Regions from separate parts of the Homo sapiens genome. Here all the other regions are linked to region 2. The links are contacts of gene promoters, found by promoter capture Hi-C in blood cells and fetal thymus (Javierre and others, 2016). All regions are on one chromosome and are shown on one strand. The core of a region is centred on a gene start or on the middle of the fragment in contact, and the rest is flanking DNA. Distances in the headings are between cores, read along the strand shown. Region 1 holds the start of RBM43 (RNA binding motif protein 43). Region 2 holds the start of STAM2 (signal transducing adaptor molecule 2). Region 3 overlaps ARL6IP6 (ARF like GTPase 6 interacting protein 6).

What was found. The method cuts DNA at HindIII sites, captures the fragments that hold promoters and counts their contacts. A CHiCAGO score of 5 or more calls a contact.
Region 1: the fragment with the promoter of RBM43 here is called in contact with the fragment with the promoter of STAM2 in region 2 in 1 of 17 cell types (non-activated CD4 T cells); the score reaches 5.2 in non-activated CD4 T cells.
Region 3: a fragment that was not itself captured here is called in contact with the fragment with the promoter of STAM2 in region 2 in 8 of 17 cell types (non-activated CD4 T cells, total CD4 T cells, neutrophils and 5 more); the score reaches 9.3 in non-activated CD4 T cells.

The regions. Positions count from the first base shown.
Region 1 is chr2:151,260,239-151,263,810 of GRCh38, forward strand. It overlaps RBM43 (RNA binding motif protein 43), which reads right to left and starts at 1,625. Exons shown (of 4, transcript NM_198557.3): 1 at 1,487-1,625. The coding sequence starts at 1,489. RefSeq lists a silencer at 1,169-1,438 and an enhancer at 1,479-1,708. The HindIII fragment of the contact is 8,034 bases long and covers 1-3,572 here.
Region 2 is chr2:152,173,482-152,177,087 of GRCh38, forward strand. It overlaps STAM2 (signal transducing adaptor molecule 2), which reads right to left and starts at 2,282. Exons shown (of 14, transcript NM_005843.6): 1 at 2,122-2,282. The coding sequence starts at 2,161. LOC105373689 (a long non-coding RNA gene) reads left to right here and starts at 2,052. Exons shown (of 3, transcript XR_923477.3): 1 at 2,052-3,076. RefSeq lists enhancers at 1,820-1,869, 1,920-2,059, 2,220-2,743, 2,220-2,639. The HindIII fragment of the contact is 5,938 bases long and covers 1-3,606 here.
Region 3 is chr2:152,746,652-152,750,667 of GRCh38, forward strand. The region is part of intron 3 of ARL6IP6 (ARF like GTPase 6 interacting protein 6); the gene reads left to right. Among named protein-coding and RNA genes, the nearest start is that of ARL6IP6, 30 kb to the left of the region's middle. The HindIII fragment of the contact is 978 bases long and covers 1,816-2,793 here.

The DNA of each region.
Region 1 (3,572 bases), core at 375-2,874, 910 kb before region 2:
CCTCAGCCTCCCCAGTAGCTGAGACTACAGGTGGATGCCATCACGCCCAGCTAATTTTTGTATTTTTAGTAGAGACTCCTGACCTCAAGTGATCCGCCCTCCTTCGCCTCCCAAAGTGCTGGGATTACAGGCGTGAGCCACCGTGCCGGGCAGGGAGATCATTTTCTGCACCCCAACAATATCAAAGAAAAACATGCAATCAATTTAAACTCAGGAAATCTTACTTCAGCTCTATGCCCTCATTAGTACTAATACCATATTTCTTTATTCGAATGTCTACTGGTAATTTATCTTTAAAATCAAAGAAACTTCTCCCTGAACCAGTATTTTTAGAAGAAAAAAACATAAAGATGTAAATTTTGTTTGGTAAGAACTAGTTTCTATGAATCATCTAATGAATTAGTACTTCAATGACTTGCCAATATTTGTCCTTAACTCCCTTTCATAGGTTGGAGAAAGTATGGCTAACATAGATAATTTTACTGAGGTCAATTATGAATAATGAGGGTTGTTCATCTCTTCTACCCACGATTAAGATAAAGAAATGCCTAGAGAAAGACAGTCCTTTCAAGGACTTTGAAACGAGCAGCTTTTAGCCAAGACATACTAACGTGATGGCGCATTTCCTTGCATCAGTATTGTGTTATAACAGACTTGGCCATCTTATCAGAAAGCAAAAAGTATATAGCAAAACTTTACTTTTGTAAGTAAGGCATTGGGAAGAAACAGAAGATTCATTGACTGCATTTGTTTATATTGATTTTCTCAAAATCAGTTGTTTATTTTCAATGACGACGCCTCTACCGCCACCAGGTCAACAAAAACGTACTTGCTTTTGCATTTCCGGGACTCTAGCATTTCAGAGCAGGAATTAAAGGCCTTGCCAAGGCTTTTAAGCGATTGATGGAAACAAAACAAAACACAGAAGGATAAATTTTGAATTTGCTAAGACAAGAATTCGCACCAAGGCAGACATAAGACATGAGGATGTCTTCCTGACTTGCGTCCTTGGCTCGAATCGTTCTTATTAGCCCTTTTCAAAAGGCAGCTGTGACCTCCATTTCTGGCTAATCAGGCCACTTTTGTTCCCCCCGAGGCGTGGGAGGACAACAGTTAAGCCCTAACAGCCTGCGAAGCAGCTCCTCGACGAACGGCGGCGTCCCCGTCGCCTGGGCAGTGGGTGTGGGAGGTGACAGCCTAGTCCTGAGCCTCTGGAGCGGGCCTATACTGCACCGCCGTACGTGAATTTCAGGAGCGCGCAATGCCGCCACCTGGGAAGGGTGCAGCGAGGCTGACCTGAGTTTGCCCGCCGGGGTGGACGGCTCTCCGGGGCCCCCGGGGTCCCTGGGGCCCCTCCGTGCGCCGCCCCCTCCCGCGCAGCCCTGCACCCTGGCCCGTCGCGCCCGGTTCCGCGCCCTTCTAGGGGACCATGGCGACGGTACAGGCACGGACCTGCACCGCAAAACCCAAAGCAAAAGCAACTTGCCATGGCGGAGGGGAGACGCGCCCTCAGCGGCCGCAGAAAGCCCACAACCAGCGGAACGCAGGCGATGGGGAGAGGAGCGAGCAGGCAGGTTTTGGTTTCGTTTTTTGTTCCAGCTCCCTTGGAGGCTACGAAGAAAAGGGCGGTCCTTCCACCCGATCCGGCTGTTCTGCGACCTCGTGGCCTCTGAGTGGGAGCTCGGACTCAGGAGTGCTGTTGCCAGCGCCTGCCCAGACGCCCTCCGTAGTTTTGCAACTTGTGGAAGCACTCTGGAGAGAGGCCGAGAGGATTCCTCGACAGGAAATTTGGGAATTCTCTGGGTGATGCATCAGTGATTGCAATTTTGTTTTTACCCGTTTTGCTAAGCAGCAGCAACAACGGCAGAGTTGATTTAAAAAAAGAAAAAACGCAAAAAGGGAAAACACATAGTAGGTGGTGGCCGCTTCCTGTGTTGATACTGGGGGGCTACGCTTTTCCTAACATCAATCATCTCGTAGTTGCAGAGAGCCCTAGATGTCATGATAGTTTTGAATCGCATGCATTATCATGTAAGGGAGTTAAATATCTTGCATGCATGCTCTCTTCTGTGTTTATATATTCGATGCCATGAAATTGAAGGGCATGTGGCTAAAACCTTTTTACTACATGAAACTTTACAACACTTTTGAAAACATTTCAATTTGGTTGATGCGCACTGTAATATTTCTCCAGATAACTGTCCAAAATTTTCCATGGAGAAGGCTTTTATCCTCATTAGTTGCTGGCCTCAAACTAACCATCTAGGATATTAAACTTCTGCCAGAATTTTACATCCAGCTACCTTTACTTTTTAGAACGTATTCTCTATCATGTTATTGATATCAATTTCTACTTCACACAGATGGTTTTTTACAACAGCAAATCAAGTTTTTCTAACATCAGTTTTAAAAAGCCCTGCACTCAGTGAAATCTGGATGTCTTTCCTACGCCCTTATTATCTGTCCAGACTTCTTCCCCTTCCCCCACCGCTCACCTGGGCCTTTTCCTCTGCACAACCTACCCCAGTTCCCCAACCCCCACCTCAACCCCCAACGCCGTGTTGGTCACCTTCCCAGCCCAGACCAGGAGCCCTCTTGGACCTCTGCCGGGTGCTAAGGACACAGGATGAGAGCGCCAGGTCCCTGCCAGCAGAGAGCTCACCACCTTGTCCATGCCTTAGCACAGGAACCCCGAATGGCGCCTGTGGGGACACAGGGAATCTCTGGACAAACTTCAAAATCAAATCAATGAATGCATGAAGAACAAAGGTAGATGGCTAGCAGATATGAAGAAACCCAATCCCACTCCTAAGAAATGTAAATTGAAATAATAAGATACCATTTTTCACAACTAGATCTGCAAAACCAGAAAGTGTTAGCCTGAATGTAAGCATCAGAGTTGCTGCAAGCATAGATGGATGCAAATACTTCTAAAGATTTTTATCAAAATGTAAAGTGCAAAAAAATGTAAAATGCACATATTCTTAGTCTCAGCAATTCTACTTTTAGAACTGAACTTGAAGTTATAGTGCGCAAATGGCACTAAGATATTGTATAGAAATTTTAGTTGTACATTGCTTGAAATACAGGTAGTAATAATTTTTTTATAAACTGGGATCCACCTAGTTTATCATTGGATGGAGCTATTTGTTATACGGCTGATGATATATCAGTAAGGCACAAGGCTATGAAGATTTTAAAACAGAATGAGGTAGGGGGAAGTGGCTCCCGCCTGTATTCCCAGAACTTTGGGAGGCCAAGGTGGGCGGATCATTTTGAGCTCAGGAATTCAAGACCAGCTTGAGCAACATGGTGAAACCCGTCTGTACTAAAAATACAAAAATTAGCCGGGCGTGGTGGCACACACCTGTAATCTCAGCTACTCGGGAGGCTGAGGCTAGAGAATCGCTTGAACCCGGGAGGCAGAGTGAGCCAAGATCACACCACTGCACTCCAGCCTGGGCGAGAGAACAAGACTCTATCTCAAGAAGGAAAAAAAAAAAAAACAGCATGAGGTAGATCTGTATGTAATTCCCCAATTTATATTTTATCTCCAGATTTATATATCTAAG
Region 2 (3,606 bases), core at 1,032-3,531:
CGCCTCCCGGGTTCAAGTGATTCTCCTGCCTCAGCCTCCCCAGTAGCAGGGACTACAGGCACGCGCCACCATGCCTGGCTAATTTTTTGTATTTTGGTAGAAACGGGGTTTCACCATGTTGGTCAGGCTGGTCTCAAACTCCCGACCTCCAGTGATTTACCCGCCTCGGCCTCCCAAAGTGCTGGGATTACAGGCGTGAGCCGCTGCGCCTGACCCTTGCTTTGTATTAACGATTTGAAATGAAAAGTTTTAAGATATTAAAAACGTAATATATAATTTTTCTTCTATGATATACGTGCAAGTCCAATTTGAGCTCTTTAGTATTTCATTCTACTTTTTCTAATTCCATTCTCTTGTCCAGAAGTTACAGGAGGGCCTCAAATTCATTCTTTCACCCTTAAAATGCCTTTGGGGTTCTGAATTCAGTCATGCTTAAGCTAATATGTAACTACTTGAAGCTCTGGCTTATGGCACTGGCCATAAAATAATCTAGACACAGTTTTTTTGTTTGTTTGTTTTTTTAATCTCAACAGCAGTGCCTCCTTTACAACTGTAGGACTAAACTGTGATCCACTAAACCAATGCTGGGGCCTCGGGAGCCAGGCAGGGAAAGGTTTAGAACAGAACAGACAGAGCAACTCTGCCTACTTGTACCAGAGAATTTTTCCATCAGAAAACAATGAACTTTCAAGAAAAATTTATATTGAAGAAAAGAATTCACGGTTTTTAAGTTTTAAAATCATTTGTCTAATTCTATTTTGCGCCTTCTGTTTTATTTCATTAGAACAGAATCAAAGTGTTCATAATAGCAATTTTTTAAAAGTACAGGTTGCACAAAGGTTGTATGATTCAAACAAAAGAATACTGCAATGAGGCGTTCCAAAAGGAAACAGTGAGCCTTAAGAGTGATGTTTCCCAGATTTACGCCAGTCACCTGTATTCATCCACCAAAAAAAAAGTTTAATGAAGTAAGGAACATACATATTTGAACTATTTACATATATTATTTGACTCAAACATGTTTTTTAAAATGGCTTAGGGGATTACACAACGTATCAGAATAGGGCACTTTCTACAGTCTCCTAATAACCAAATGTTAACTATGAAACAGGGGAATTACTGCTGAGATGTGCAGTATTCTTCTGAGTCTCCCCGCCCCAACCCCATTTCCAAGTTCTAAAAATTTACCTAGGGTTCTGTTAACTACTGCTACAAAAACAAACAAAAAACAAACCTGTAGTCCCAGCTACTCGGGAAGGGGAAACGGAGGTGGAGGCTGAGGTGGGAGGAATTCTAGTCGCACCTGGGCAACATAGTGAGACCCAGACTTTCGAGAATACATACATATATTTCTCAGTTTGTTTTAGTGTTACTCAAATTTCCTAAATAATTTCGTATATATCTTATCCATGTTTTTCTCATTCTATAGTCACTGAGAGACCAGCGCTTTATGACTGCAACATGTAAAATACTTGTTGTTCTGGAGTGTTTTGAGACTGGAGATTTCCTTTTCATACTCTAAAACCGAACATCTCCTAGCACCCGCGCAATCTTTGCAATCCGGGGATGAAGAGCAACACCTTTACAATTGTAATAAATCTTAAAGCTACCCTATCAGGGATTGAATGCATGAGTAATATAAATAATGGGGAAGTAAGTTCTTCCTATTCAATGCGGTTGTCTAGGTGTCAAGTGTCTAGTGTTGGGCTTCTCTAGACAGCAGGGTCTCCACTGCTGCATCATCTTCAGAAAACGATGGGGCAAAGACGGAGGTAACCAGCTGTCGAACGAGCAGGAAGTTTTTAATCACCAACTCCACAACTACTTAATCAGTCCAGTCTCCAGCGAGCCCTAGGCTCTTCCCAAATCCTACGCTTGGCAAGGAGAACGGCCCTTTGAGGGTCCCCAAACTCAGGCGGCAGGAAGCACTCCCCAGACCGCTAGCGACGCGCCGAGGTTGCCCCAGAAAAATCCCAACGTCGAAGGAGCGGGCGGCACCGCCCCTCCCCTCCCTTCGCTTTGCTTCCTAGTCCCCGGAGTCGCTACCGCCCACTTTCTAGCCGGACAAACAGCAGTCCAGGGCCAGGCACACAGCAGTCCAGGACCGGGCACAGCACTCACCCACGTCTTGCTCGAAGGGGTTGGCGGTGAACAAAGGCATCTCGCCGGCGCCCGAGCCCTAGTCGCTGCTGTCTAGCTGACACTCAGCAACTGCTACCCGCCGGGTGACCCGCGGCCGCGGCTCCCTAGACCGCTCCGCTTCGGCCTCCGTCCCTGCACTTCCGCCACCGCACCTGCCCGGCTCTTGCCTGACAGGCCGGCTCGGAGTCCACCCTTCGATCCCGCGCTCCTGTCCCAACTTTTCTCCCGGGGCGAGATCCCTCCGACCATGGGCGTCCTCCCAAGGCCTTTGTCGCTGCCCCTGTCCCAGACTTTTGTAGGGGTCAGGCGGCCGCTACGGCCACCTTTCCAGCGCTAGGACCCCGGCTAGCCACGAAGCCGGGGACCTTCGGAGCCGGAAGTAGTCCCGCCTGGAACTGGACGACCCCGGAAGCTGCAGTGCCAGCGGCGGCGCGGCAGGGGGCGCGGTTACCCGTGGTTTTTCGCGTTGGACGACGGGCTCTGAGGGCCAAGTTCTTGTCACGAATTTAGTTTGTTTCAGAGCGGCAGGACTCGTAGCTAGAGAACGAGGACCCACGACGCGTACGCGTTACAGTCCTGTTTCCCTAGAAACGGAGCTGCCGGCGCGGAGGTGGCTTTGAGATTCTGCGAAAGACCTGACTGCTCTTCAACAATTATTGTGTTGCACCCTCCCAGGCGCCCAGTCCAAACCCCGTCAGAATAACCACCCGGGACAGCGGTGGTCGAAGTAACTACGCCTAACTTTTCGCTTTCCATCGTGTCCCCTCCATAAAAACACTGCTGGGCCCCCGGAATCCAAAGGCGAAGGAGGCACACTCCCTGCCTTAGACTTGTTGAGAGTTTTATAGGGGCAGTGCATAACGTACATGATGGTGTATGACGATTCGGATGGTAGTACGAGTCATAAACTCAAATTCCAACAGCATCCAGCCAGGTATTTAAATGAATGCAAAAGCCCAAGCACCCTTCCCACCCACATATTCTCTGTTCCTCTTAGAAAACTGTAGTAATGATTATGTTGCCTGTCTCTCCTCCTCATTAGATTATAAACTCCCTGATAAGTTTTGGTCACTACTATATCCCCAGCGTCTAAAACAGTGTCCCAAGTAATAGACGCTCAATGCTTTTCGAATGAAGCTGTAACTTTCTAACTGAACAGTGCGTATCTAAAGATGTCAACTACTGGTAAATTGCAGCCATTTATTGAAATGTGGGTCCTACTAGAGTTTGCAATTTTTCAATGATGTTTAAATGTTGAGAATTACTCCAACATTTTAAATAATAGATTAATCAAAACCATTTTACAAACTCTAGTATAAAGACCTGATGCTATAGAGAGCTCATACACATTCAGAAAGGTGGTTGCATTTTATAAAGTTCGGGGCACAAATGAGAAGGAATCGTGCAGAAGGGGCTGTTTTTCATAGAACGTTGAACCTAGGGATGTTCAAGATAAATTGGGAG
Region 3 (4,016 bases), core at 1,055-3,554, 570 kb after region 2:
AAGTGTAAGTTTACTAAAGCAACAGATACGTCAGATGATAAAGCAGACATAGTGTCAGAGGTTTTCTTTTCTTAAGGTTTTTTGAGCTGGAAGTCTGACCATGGCCTGCCACAAGTTGCCAGTTATCTTTTCTTGGATAATTGTTATTTATCCTGAGATTTTATCCTTTCTTTTTTTTTTTTTTTTTTTTTTTTGAGGTCTTGCTTTGTTGCCCCAGGCCGAAGTGCAGAGTGGCACAATCATGGCTCACTGCAGCCTCAACTGCCTGGGCTCAAACAACCCTCCTGCCTCCGCCTCCCAAATTGCTGGGACTACAGGCGAGTGCTGCTATGCCTGGCTAAATTTTTTATTTTTATTTTGTAGAGATAGGGTCTCACTAAGTTGCCCAGGACAGTCTTGAACTCCTGAGCTCAAGCAATCCTCCTGGCCTAGTCTCCCAAGGCACTGGGATTACAGGCGTGAGCCACCACGCCCAGCCAACAACTAATTGTTAATATTATCTCATTTAGTTTTAATAAGAACACTAATGAAAGGAATTATTATCCTCATTTTAAAGATTGAGAATTAGATTTTCTGGTAGGTTAAAATAGTTCTGTGACTAGTACAGCCATGACTAAACTCCAGTGAGGAGAGAGCTAGCTTTCCAGGTCTTTCATTCTGATCATATTAAACAATTGAGCTTCCTATTCTCTCCATTGTCTCTTGCTTCTGCGCATACTGTTAGGTGTTTAGAACACTAAATCCCTCATACTCAATTTTAGTTCAGGTATTAGCTCTTCTTTGGAATTTTTTCTCCCCTTCTACAAGCTGAATGGCTCCTTTATGTTCCAGTAATACTGCCTGCAAAACAATCTACTACGTCACAAGATTCTGTTATCTTCGAAGGCAGTACTGACTCCTTACTCATTTCTCTCTCTTTTTTTTTTTCCTTTTTTTGTTGGTTTGAGATAGTCTCACTCTGTCACCCAGGCTGGAGTGCAGTGGCATGATCTTGGCTCACTGCAACCTCCACCCGCTGGGTTCAAGCAATTCTCCTGCCTCAGCCTCCAGAGGAGCTAGGATTACAGGCCACCACACCCAACTAAGTTTTTGTATTTTTAGTAGAGATGGGGTTTCACCATGTTGGCCAGGCTGGTCTCAAACTCCTGGCTTCAAGTGATCCACCCGCCTTGGCCTCCCAAAGTGCTAGGATTGCAGGCGTGAGCCACCATGCCTGGCCAAAATTTTTTTTGTAGAAACAATGTCTCCCTATATGCTCAGGCTGGTCTGGAATCCCTGACCTCAAGCCATCCTCCTGCCTCAGCCTTCCAAAGTGTTGGGATTACTGGCATGAGTCACCGCATCCAGCCCTACTAATTTCTCTATCTCCTGTATGTAATTTAATACCTGATACCGAGTATTCTGTAAATCTTGGTGAATGAAAAGGGAATTGAGAAAGTTATAAAGAACTTTAGAGTAAAAAGTAAGAGGCAAAGTCATGTGTGTTATTTTTTCCTTAAGGAGAGACATAGCAAAGAAGTGAAATTAGGGAAGCATTCTCTTTAAAATTCTAACCCTGATTTCTTAAATAACAATGGTCAAGTTCATTGAAATCAACTTTGTCTGCTCTTCAGCAATTTCTAACAAGTAATTTTTAGGACAAAAGGATATAATAAAGTTAATGTAGTTTTACGTTTCTAAAAAGGAAATGCTTTTTAAGTTAATAAAATACGGTGTTGCTTGTTTTTTTGTTTTGTTTTGTTTTCCAAGTTTCAGGTTTAGTGTTAAGATCTTTTGATTCCAGATAAAGAACTAACTGATAGTAACTCCAAACAAAGCTTATACAGCTTAAAAACTTTTAGCAATTGGAGATTCCTGGGCTAGGGATAGAATGAGAAAACAAAGGCAGCTCAGATGTGTGAAAGGGGAATAGATTAGTACCATCTTGCTCATCCCTTCTCCCTCTGAGCCAATCAGACACAGAAACGAATAGCCAGTTGGGTCTTAAGATGGGCCTTTAACATATCTTCTTATTCTGGCAAGCACAGAGCGCTTTCTGCTTAAAGCAGTATCAGCTGGAAATGAAGTTATTATTTTAAATTACAAGAGTTCTGTCATAAAAGCATCTCTGACATGTGGGAATACCTGTGTGGGAAAGAAAATACAGGAATAAATATGGCATGGAACAATTATTCTAACAGAGTGGAGTCTGGTGTTTAGTATTGTAGTATAGAGATTCAGTTCAGATCAACCAAAACTAGCATAAAAACAATAAACAACCTGAAACATGACAAGAGACCTGCTCAGTTCTGTTATTCTGTCTCTAACTTTTTCTTTTTAAGGTAATTTATTTGGAATTTTTGGAAGTTGCTTATTCAGTGCTTTAATTTATGCTTCAAAATATAAGAATGTAGTCACTTAAATTGCCAAAGTCATTGAATTCATTTGAATCTTATATTTTAAATGTATTCCATTCCTGAAAAATGAAAATAATTATAATTCTTTTATAATATATTCACTTTGCAAGTTACTATTTAATAGTAATCTAAATATATTGCTAGACATTATATTTTCACAGAACAAAGTCTAGATATAAATAATGGAAGTCTGGGTTCTCCAGTGAATTATAAAAGAAGTCGTTATGTAGGAAGAGGGTAATATCAAGCAGAAACACACACACAAAAACACACACACACACACACACACGCACGCACGCGAGAGAGACCTTTAATTCTCCCATTTCTTTCTTCCATCTACTTCTTGGGTTTGCTTTTATACTACTATTGTTTGTTTCTTTGTTTTGGTTTTAAAGCAAGCTTAGGTTTAGGTGTTTTACTTGGAAGGGAGAATCTAAGTAGATGGTCAGAAGAATTTTTAAAAATCTCTTCTGTACCTAAGTTTCTTTACTATATAGCTAAGATGTATTGATCATTTACTATGTGCCAGACACCTGGTATTCACAACAGCTTTGTAAGGGTAGATTCTATTTTTGTTTCCATTGTATGGAGAAGAAAATTGAAGGTCAAAGAGGTCAAACAATGTTGCCATCTTCATACCCCTTGTAAGAGGCAAGGCTGGCACTCAGACCCGTGTTTATCTAATCATAGAGCTTGAACTCTTAACCACTATCAGGGACTACATAAGTACTTCATTGTAGAATTTTTTATTATTGAAAGGAATTCTCTAGAACCAGAAAAAGGTCATACCTTCTATATAGCTTATCTTTCAGGATATGGAAGTAGATCTAAAGAAACGTTCTGGTTTTGCCATTGGGTACTCTATTTTACTACTTATTCTTTCATATGGTCAAATGAAGAGTCACATCTTAACAATGTTGATTTAGCAGGTTAAATTATATCCATTAATTTTCATCATAGATAGGTCTCCTTAATTGACTCTTTGGGACTAAAATATTTATATCCTCTGCATCATTGTTCTAGTTTTAAGTACAGGTAATGTTGACCAATAACCTGTTTTAATAGGTAAAAAACTGTACATAATCTTTTTGAGGTGTTTTTTAGGATTATTTCTTGCTACCTGGGATACTTACAGAAATGTAGAACTGAGACCGAGCGCAGTGGCTCACGCCTGTATCCCAGCACTTTGGGAGTGCTGGGTGGATCACCTGAGGTTAGGAGTTCCAGACCAGCCTGGCCAACATGGTGAAACCCCATCTCTACTAAAAATACAAAAATTAGCTGGGCATGGTGACACGTGTGTTTGTGACCCCAGCTACTTGGAAGGCTGAGGCATGAGAATCGTTTGAACCTGAAAGGCGGAGGTTGCAGTGAGCCAAGATCACACCACTGCACTCCAGACCAGGTGACAGAGCAAGACTCTGTCCAAAAAAAAAAAAAAAGAGAGAGAGAGAGAGAAAGGAAGGGAGGGAGGGCGGAAGGAAGGAAATGGAAGGAAATAGAAGCGACCTTAGGTTCATCTGGTCCAGTTTTTCTCCTGAGAAGCATGAAATCTTAAGTTGGAGTTCCACTTCTGGTTCTTTTCTTTCCCTTTACACAATGTACCTCTTTTGTCTGTCA